Regions from separate parts of the Homo sapiens genome. Here region 2 is linked to region 1. Evidence: promoter capture Hi-C in 16 types of primary human blood cells and fetal thymus (Javierre and others, 2016). All regions are on one chromosome and are shown on one strand. Each heading gives the region's core, a stretch centred on a gene start or on the middle of the fragment in contact. The rest is flanking DNA. Distances are from core to core; before and after follow the strand shown. Region 1 holds the start of ABCC1 (ATP binding cassette subfamily C member 1 (ABCC1 blood group)). Region 2 holds the start of LOC124903649 (a long non-coding RNA gene).

Region 1 (2,809 bases), core at 1-2,500:
TGGGGTTGTGAGGATTGCACAAGTTAATTTGTGTAAATTGCTAAGAACACAGCCTTAGGAAGCCTTGTCACTGTGAATGCATATTAATTTTTTTTATTATTATTTTTTGAGACAGAGTCTTGCTCTGTTGCCCAGGCTGGAGTGCAGTGGTGTGATCTAAGCTCATTTCAACCTCCGCCTCCCAGGTTCAAGTGATTCTCCTGTTTCAGCTTCTCAAGTAGCTGGGACTACAGGTGCCCGCCACCATGCCCGGCTAATTTTTGTGTTTTTAGTAGAGACAGGGTTTTGCTATGTTGGCTAGGCTGGTCTTGAACTCCTGACCTTATGTGATCGGCCCGCCTCGGCTTCCCAAAGTGCTTGATTACAAGCACGAGCCACCATGCCTGGCCTACGATTATCATGTCTCCAGGCTTCAGTTTCCTTACCTCTGAGGTGAGGATCAATAACCTGGTTATTTCTAAGTGATGCTTAAAGAGGTTGAGAAGAAGCAAAGGCGCTCTGCACACAGGTGAGGTCAACAGCTGTTAGTGATGGAGACTGGCGCCGTCTGGGTCATCAGTGCTCCGGAATCAGGCTGCTCACGGGTTTGAATCTCACTTCCACTTTCACTCCTTATTAACTGTGTGACCTCGGGCAAGTCACTTCGCCTTTCTGAACCTCAGTTTCCCCATCTGTAAAAGGTAGGTGAATAACAGTATTCACCTCCTTCTGTGTGACTCAGCTTTGGAGTCAGCGGACCGGGTTCAAATCCCAGCCCTGCAAGTGATTAGCCAGGTGACCCTGGGCAGAGGGAATCACTCAACCTCTCTGCACCTGGGTTTCTTCCTTCATGAACGTGGAGACTTTACAGGATGAAATGAGGGCACAGTTAAGGCGCCCGGTACACTCCAGGCAGGTAGGGGGCTCCGTTCACGTTATTTTCCCCTGGTGACGGATACTGTCCTTAAACAGCATTTGAAAAGTGGTCGCAGGGTGTGTGGCCCCAAAGATCCCAGGCGCTTCCGGAAGGCGAGCCAACGCTCCCCAGGCCCGTCCGCGAGCGGGTGGGCCTAAGCCTTGGAGGATCTGGGGTGGGGGTGGCGCGGGGTCCAGGCCCGGGGCGCCGAGAGGTGGCTGGTCCGGCTGCCCACGCCGAGACGCGCGAGGTGAGCGGGCGCCGGGGCGGGGCGGGGTGGGGCGGGGCCGCCGCATCCCCGTGACGCGCGGGCCAACCAGGCGGCGTTGCGGCCCCGGCCCCGGCTCCCTGCGCCGCCGCCGCCGCCGCCGCCAGCGCTAGCGCCAGCAGCCGGGCCCGATCACCCGCCGCCCGGTGCCCGCCGCCGCCCGCGCCAGCAACCGGGCCCGATCACCCGCCGCCCGGTGCCCGCCGCCGCCCGCGCCACCGGCATGGCGCTCCGGGGCTTCTGCAGCGCCGATGGCTCCGACCCGCTCTGGGTACGTGCCGGGGGCCGCGTGAGGCCGGCGGGACGGAGGGAGGCCGGCGGGGAGGGAAAGCACCGGGCCCGCAGCCGCCCGGGGCACCCCGCTCCCCGCTCTGCTGCCGGCCTCGGGGGCCCGGGACCCTCACGTCGCCCGCGGCCCAGCCCCTTTCGGGGGTGCAAGGCATGGGGGAAACTTGGGTGACTCAGTTCCTGCGGAGCAGAGCGTGGGGGGCCGCGTGCCCAGCCCTGGGGTTTTGGAGGGTCGGGTCGGGTCAGAGCCGCCGTGAGGAGGCCTTCCTGTTTTGGGGTTCCCGTCTGTAAAAACAACCTTCCAGGGAAGGGGACGCTAGAGATGGGGGGCGGGAAGAGGGGTGTCTCTCTGCTTCTGTTTTCCCATCTTTTTTGTGGTTAGGGTCCCCCCTTTTCACGAAAAATACTCCGTGACCAACGGGGTGAGCTGGGGAGGGGCTTAGATTGTAGAAAGGGACTTTCATTGTCTCCCCAAAGTTGTCGTACAAGCCACATTACTCTTCTGTGGTTACCTAGCTTTGTTTTTTTTGTTCTTTCTACTTAGATACTGCGGGGGAAGTTTGGGGGAACCAGGGAAGAAGGGGGATGTCCACCCTTGATGTGCCCTACCTGACCCTCGGCTCGGGGCAGACTTGGGGTGCAGCTGAGGACGCCCAGGACCCTGGTAGCTGTGGTCCTGCCCTCCCTTCCCTGCAACACGTGGAGCTCCTCTCTGGGGATGCCCCTTAGATTTAACCCCGGCAAGTTTTCTTCTGTAACGTGGCCTGCGGAGCCTGACTGGGTGTCTGGAGTCCACTTGCTGTGGTTTAAGCCCCAGTCTTTTGGGCTTCAGCTTCTCCGTAATGCGATTTGCCTCTTTGTTCCAGGAAGGCAGGCACTTCTGTCTCGTGCTGTCTTGATTGTTGGTGAACGCAGTAGGCAAATCTGGACACGACTGTTTCTCTCTCCTCTTTTGTTTAGGAATCAGGAGAAACAGCCTTGGTTCTTAGGAGCTGGTGATCAGCTTCCAAAAATACTTTCTTGTCCTGTTTTGCCGGCCTTTCCTCGAGGGTTGCATTTGGAGTGTTGAAAAGTCATCCTCCAGGGCCCCATTGGAGGGTTTGGTTTTGTTTGTTTGTTTTTTTTAGTAGGGTATCATTGTGTTTAATAACCTACCACACTTTGATATATCTCCCATTTTAAGCCAGTGGGGTTGGAGAGTAACCCCAGGGGTGGAAATAGAACACAGACTTTGCCTTGAGGGTCTGGGGGTGATTGGAGCCTCTTTGCAGATGGACTTTCTTTAGCAGGGGAAAACCTGTGGCTTCCTTGTTGCCAGGTGTAGTAACAGCAAGATTATTTTTTGCAAAGATTCACAT
Region 2 (2,968 bases), core at 40-2,539, 310 kb before region 1:
AGGCTGAGGTGGGAGGATCACTGGGGTCCCAGGGTTCGAGGCTGCAGGGAGCCATGAATGCGTCACTGCACTCCAGCCTGGGTGACACTTAGACTCTGTCTCAAAACAAACAAACAAACAAATATCTGCTTATTCCTCTACTGTAGATTAAAATTATTAAATTTTTTTTTTTTACCTGGCAATTATTCAGCTCTTGAATAACTTCCTTGTTTTCTTTACTGATGTCACATACACAGATGAATTCTGCTTCTCTGTGGCCTTTAAAAAACTTCTCACGGATTCTTTGCACAACAGCAGTTGCTGACCGGCCAGAGGGAACGGAGCAGTTTTCAATATCCCAAAAAACTCCAATGGGGGGTAAGTTTTCTAGCACCTGTCCAGCTACTGCAACTTCTGGTGACCCTTAAGAAATGTTAACATTTTCAATTACTTGTAGTGGAAAATAAATGGCAAGTTACAATAAGATAATAAACTACCTATCATTCTCAGTGGTAGAAAAACTAAATTATTAATGAATGCCAAGTTTTAAGGCTACCAACCTCACTGGTTGACCTAATAAGCAATCAAGCTGTCAAAAAGTATCACTCTAAGAGATTATTTCTGTTTTTCAGGAGAAGACAAATCTAAAAGTCAAGTAACTTTAAGCCCACAATAAATCCACCTCCAAGCATGAGCCACTCTGACATTAAGCAGTGATGCTTCTCTGAACACAAGCACACTAACTGACCGGATACTGCAGCTCCAGGACCCGACTTTCAAGCTTAGCCCACACTTATCTACCTACTTGGTAGTAACCAACACTGAGGAGCTGACAAAGGGTGAAGCTGTTACTGTCGTTGATTTTGAGTTAACGCTGCATTAACATCTGATTTAATATTTTAAAAATGTTTTCAAAACGTCGCATTAACTACTTTTTAGGGAAATTATTTTAACTGAGAACTCTTTGGTTTTCAAATACTGTTTTTAATCAGCCATTAGTAAATTGTTCTAAGCACTTCTAGGGAGTATACCATCAACAAGTGTGATTTCCAACCTAAGGTGACACCAAGTCTTTTCCAGCACTTTTATTTCTCCTGATATACTACCAATTTTTCTATACACAGCTTCTGTGTATAGCCTCGGCCCAACATAAAGGGCAAATGACTTCCTGGTCCATAATAATAAAAAGATTTCTACCAAGATATGGAATTGGAGACTCACATACACAGTAGCTTTAGAACCATAAGGAATCCTTCAAAGGTGATTAAATGCAATGTTAGTATGAGATATTGAAAGCTATTTAAATATGCACATTTTATGCCATACTGTCATTTACCAAATTTTGAAGCAGCTTTGCCTAGACTGGTCGCCAATAACAACGTGGTCTCCTTCCCTGTTCCTTTGGTTCCACAGCCATTACACAGAGGGACAGCAAGAGGTGCAGGTTGAGTATTTGGAGGTGGTATATTTGGCCAGACTTTAGCCGCATCGATTATGCTATTTCTTGCTGGCTGTTTTAAATTTTTTTTAAAAAGGAGGAGGTGTCAGATACATCATTTCAGAAGCTGGAGTTATATACAACAACTGAAAATACACTCTAAGTGTTTTACCTTTCCACTTGCTAGCCTCTAATAAAAAGGACTTTCAAATAATCTTTCCAAGAACCATTAGCTATCAGTTCATAAATTCATTTCCAGAAGTGACTTGACATGATCAAGAAAGATATTCACGTGGTCAGATCTTTACATTCTGGGGCATGAGTCTGCTGCAACGAAGACCTCACACATATTTTACATAAAGGGTAGCAAAGTCTCACTTGAACACCAATGTGACTGAGGCCAAGCTTCAGGTTTCCCACATTATTGCAAAAAGACAACATGCAGTTATCTACCTTACATGAATGGGCCCATGTGTAAGCTGAATGTAAGTTATAAAAAATCCATCGTGCTTTAGCCTTTAAACATAGAACACGAAGGCTTTGCCAACCTCTTGTTTGCAACAAGAGGCTCTAAAAGTATAAACTACAAAAATAATGACTCTCTACTTTTTTGAATGATCTCCCATCTTACCCTTTGTTTCTTTCAGAACCAGCAAAAATTATGCTGATGGGGAGATTCCCCTATACCATGGGAGAATCTTCAACCCCATGTATAATACTTTTCAAGATAAATCCACTTCAAAAGTCATTCCTCAATCCTCAGCTGCACCCAACTTAAGAAATAAAAAGATACGAACCTTGTTTAGACAGTCTTCGCAGTAAAGTGAGCCCTTTAAACAAACCGGAGGTACCACATTAAGGTGCAAAGAGTTGGTGCACAAGTGAGGCGTTAGCTCCGACTGTGAAATGTGCTCTTCCAAATGCCCTGGAGCCCCGCTTGTGAAATCAGAACAGGGGAAATAGCCAGCGGAGGTGCAGCCCTGCAGACTCGGAAACTGATGCAGCTTGTGCACATTACCATGACATGACTGGAAGTGGAGTTTTCCACAACAGGGCAGGTGTTTGCAGGAAGACAGGTTACTCTCTAGACACATGCTGGGAAAGTCACTTGCAATGCCTGCCAAATTGTTCCTAGCTGAGGCATTCTGGAGTGAAGATGCAGACTGGAAAGCAAACCCTGACCCTACCTGACACGTGATTGTCCTGGTGCTTTGCGAGTCTAACAGTGCGCCCGGGTGAATCAAGCTACTGGTACCTCCGCTACCGCCACCACCACCACCAAAACGCATTGGCGAAGTGGAGGGTTCATTAGGGCAATGAGCACAGCAGCTTACTTTGGGGACAGAAGAAAGCTGTATTTTAGGCTGCTGAAGAGAACGAATATCAGGAAGTGGGACTGCTGGAAAAAGCTTAGAGCCAGCATGAAGGGGTGATGGTACATCCTTTAGTTCCACAGCAACTTTCTTGTTCTCCATGTACTCTTTCTGAGAAAAGAAAATCAGAACATAAATTAATTTTATGAGGTCCGTGGTTTTTTGGTTACTCATATCT

The links. The method cuts DNA at HindIII sites, captures the fragments that hold promoters and counts their contacts. A CHiCAGO score of 5 or more calls a contact.
Region 2: a contact is called between a fragment that was not itself captured here and the fragment with the promoter of ABCC1 in region 1, in 1 of 17 cell types (total CD4 T cells). The highest score is 5.2, in total CD4 T cells.

Annotation. Positions count from the first base shown.
Region 1 is chr16:15,948,366-15,951,174 of GRCh38, forward strand. ABCC1 (ATP binding cassette subfamily C member 1 (ABCC1 blood group)) reads left to right here and starts at 1,251. Exons shown (of 31, transcript NM_004996.4): 1 at 1,251-1,434. The coding sequence starts at 1,387. LOC107984869 (a long non-coding RNA gene) reads right to left here and starts at 806. Exons shown (of 3, transcript XR_001752339.2): 1 at 426-806. The HindIII fragment of the contact is 23,517 bases long and covers 1-2,809 here.
Region 2 is chr16:15,633,442-15,636,409 of GRCh38, forward strand. It overlaps MARF1 (meiosis regulator and mRNA stability factor 1), which reads right to left. Exons shown (of 27, transcript NM_014647.4): 3 at 2,215-2,901; 4 at 1,316-1,490; 5 at 176-402. It overlaps LOC124903649 (a long non-coding RNA gene), which reads left to right and starts at 569. Exons shown (of 2, transcript XR_007065003.1): 1 at 569-818; 2 at 2,065-2,357. The HindIII fragment of the contact is 1,062 bases long and covers 759-1,820 here.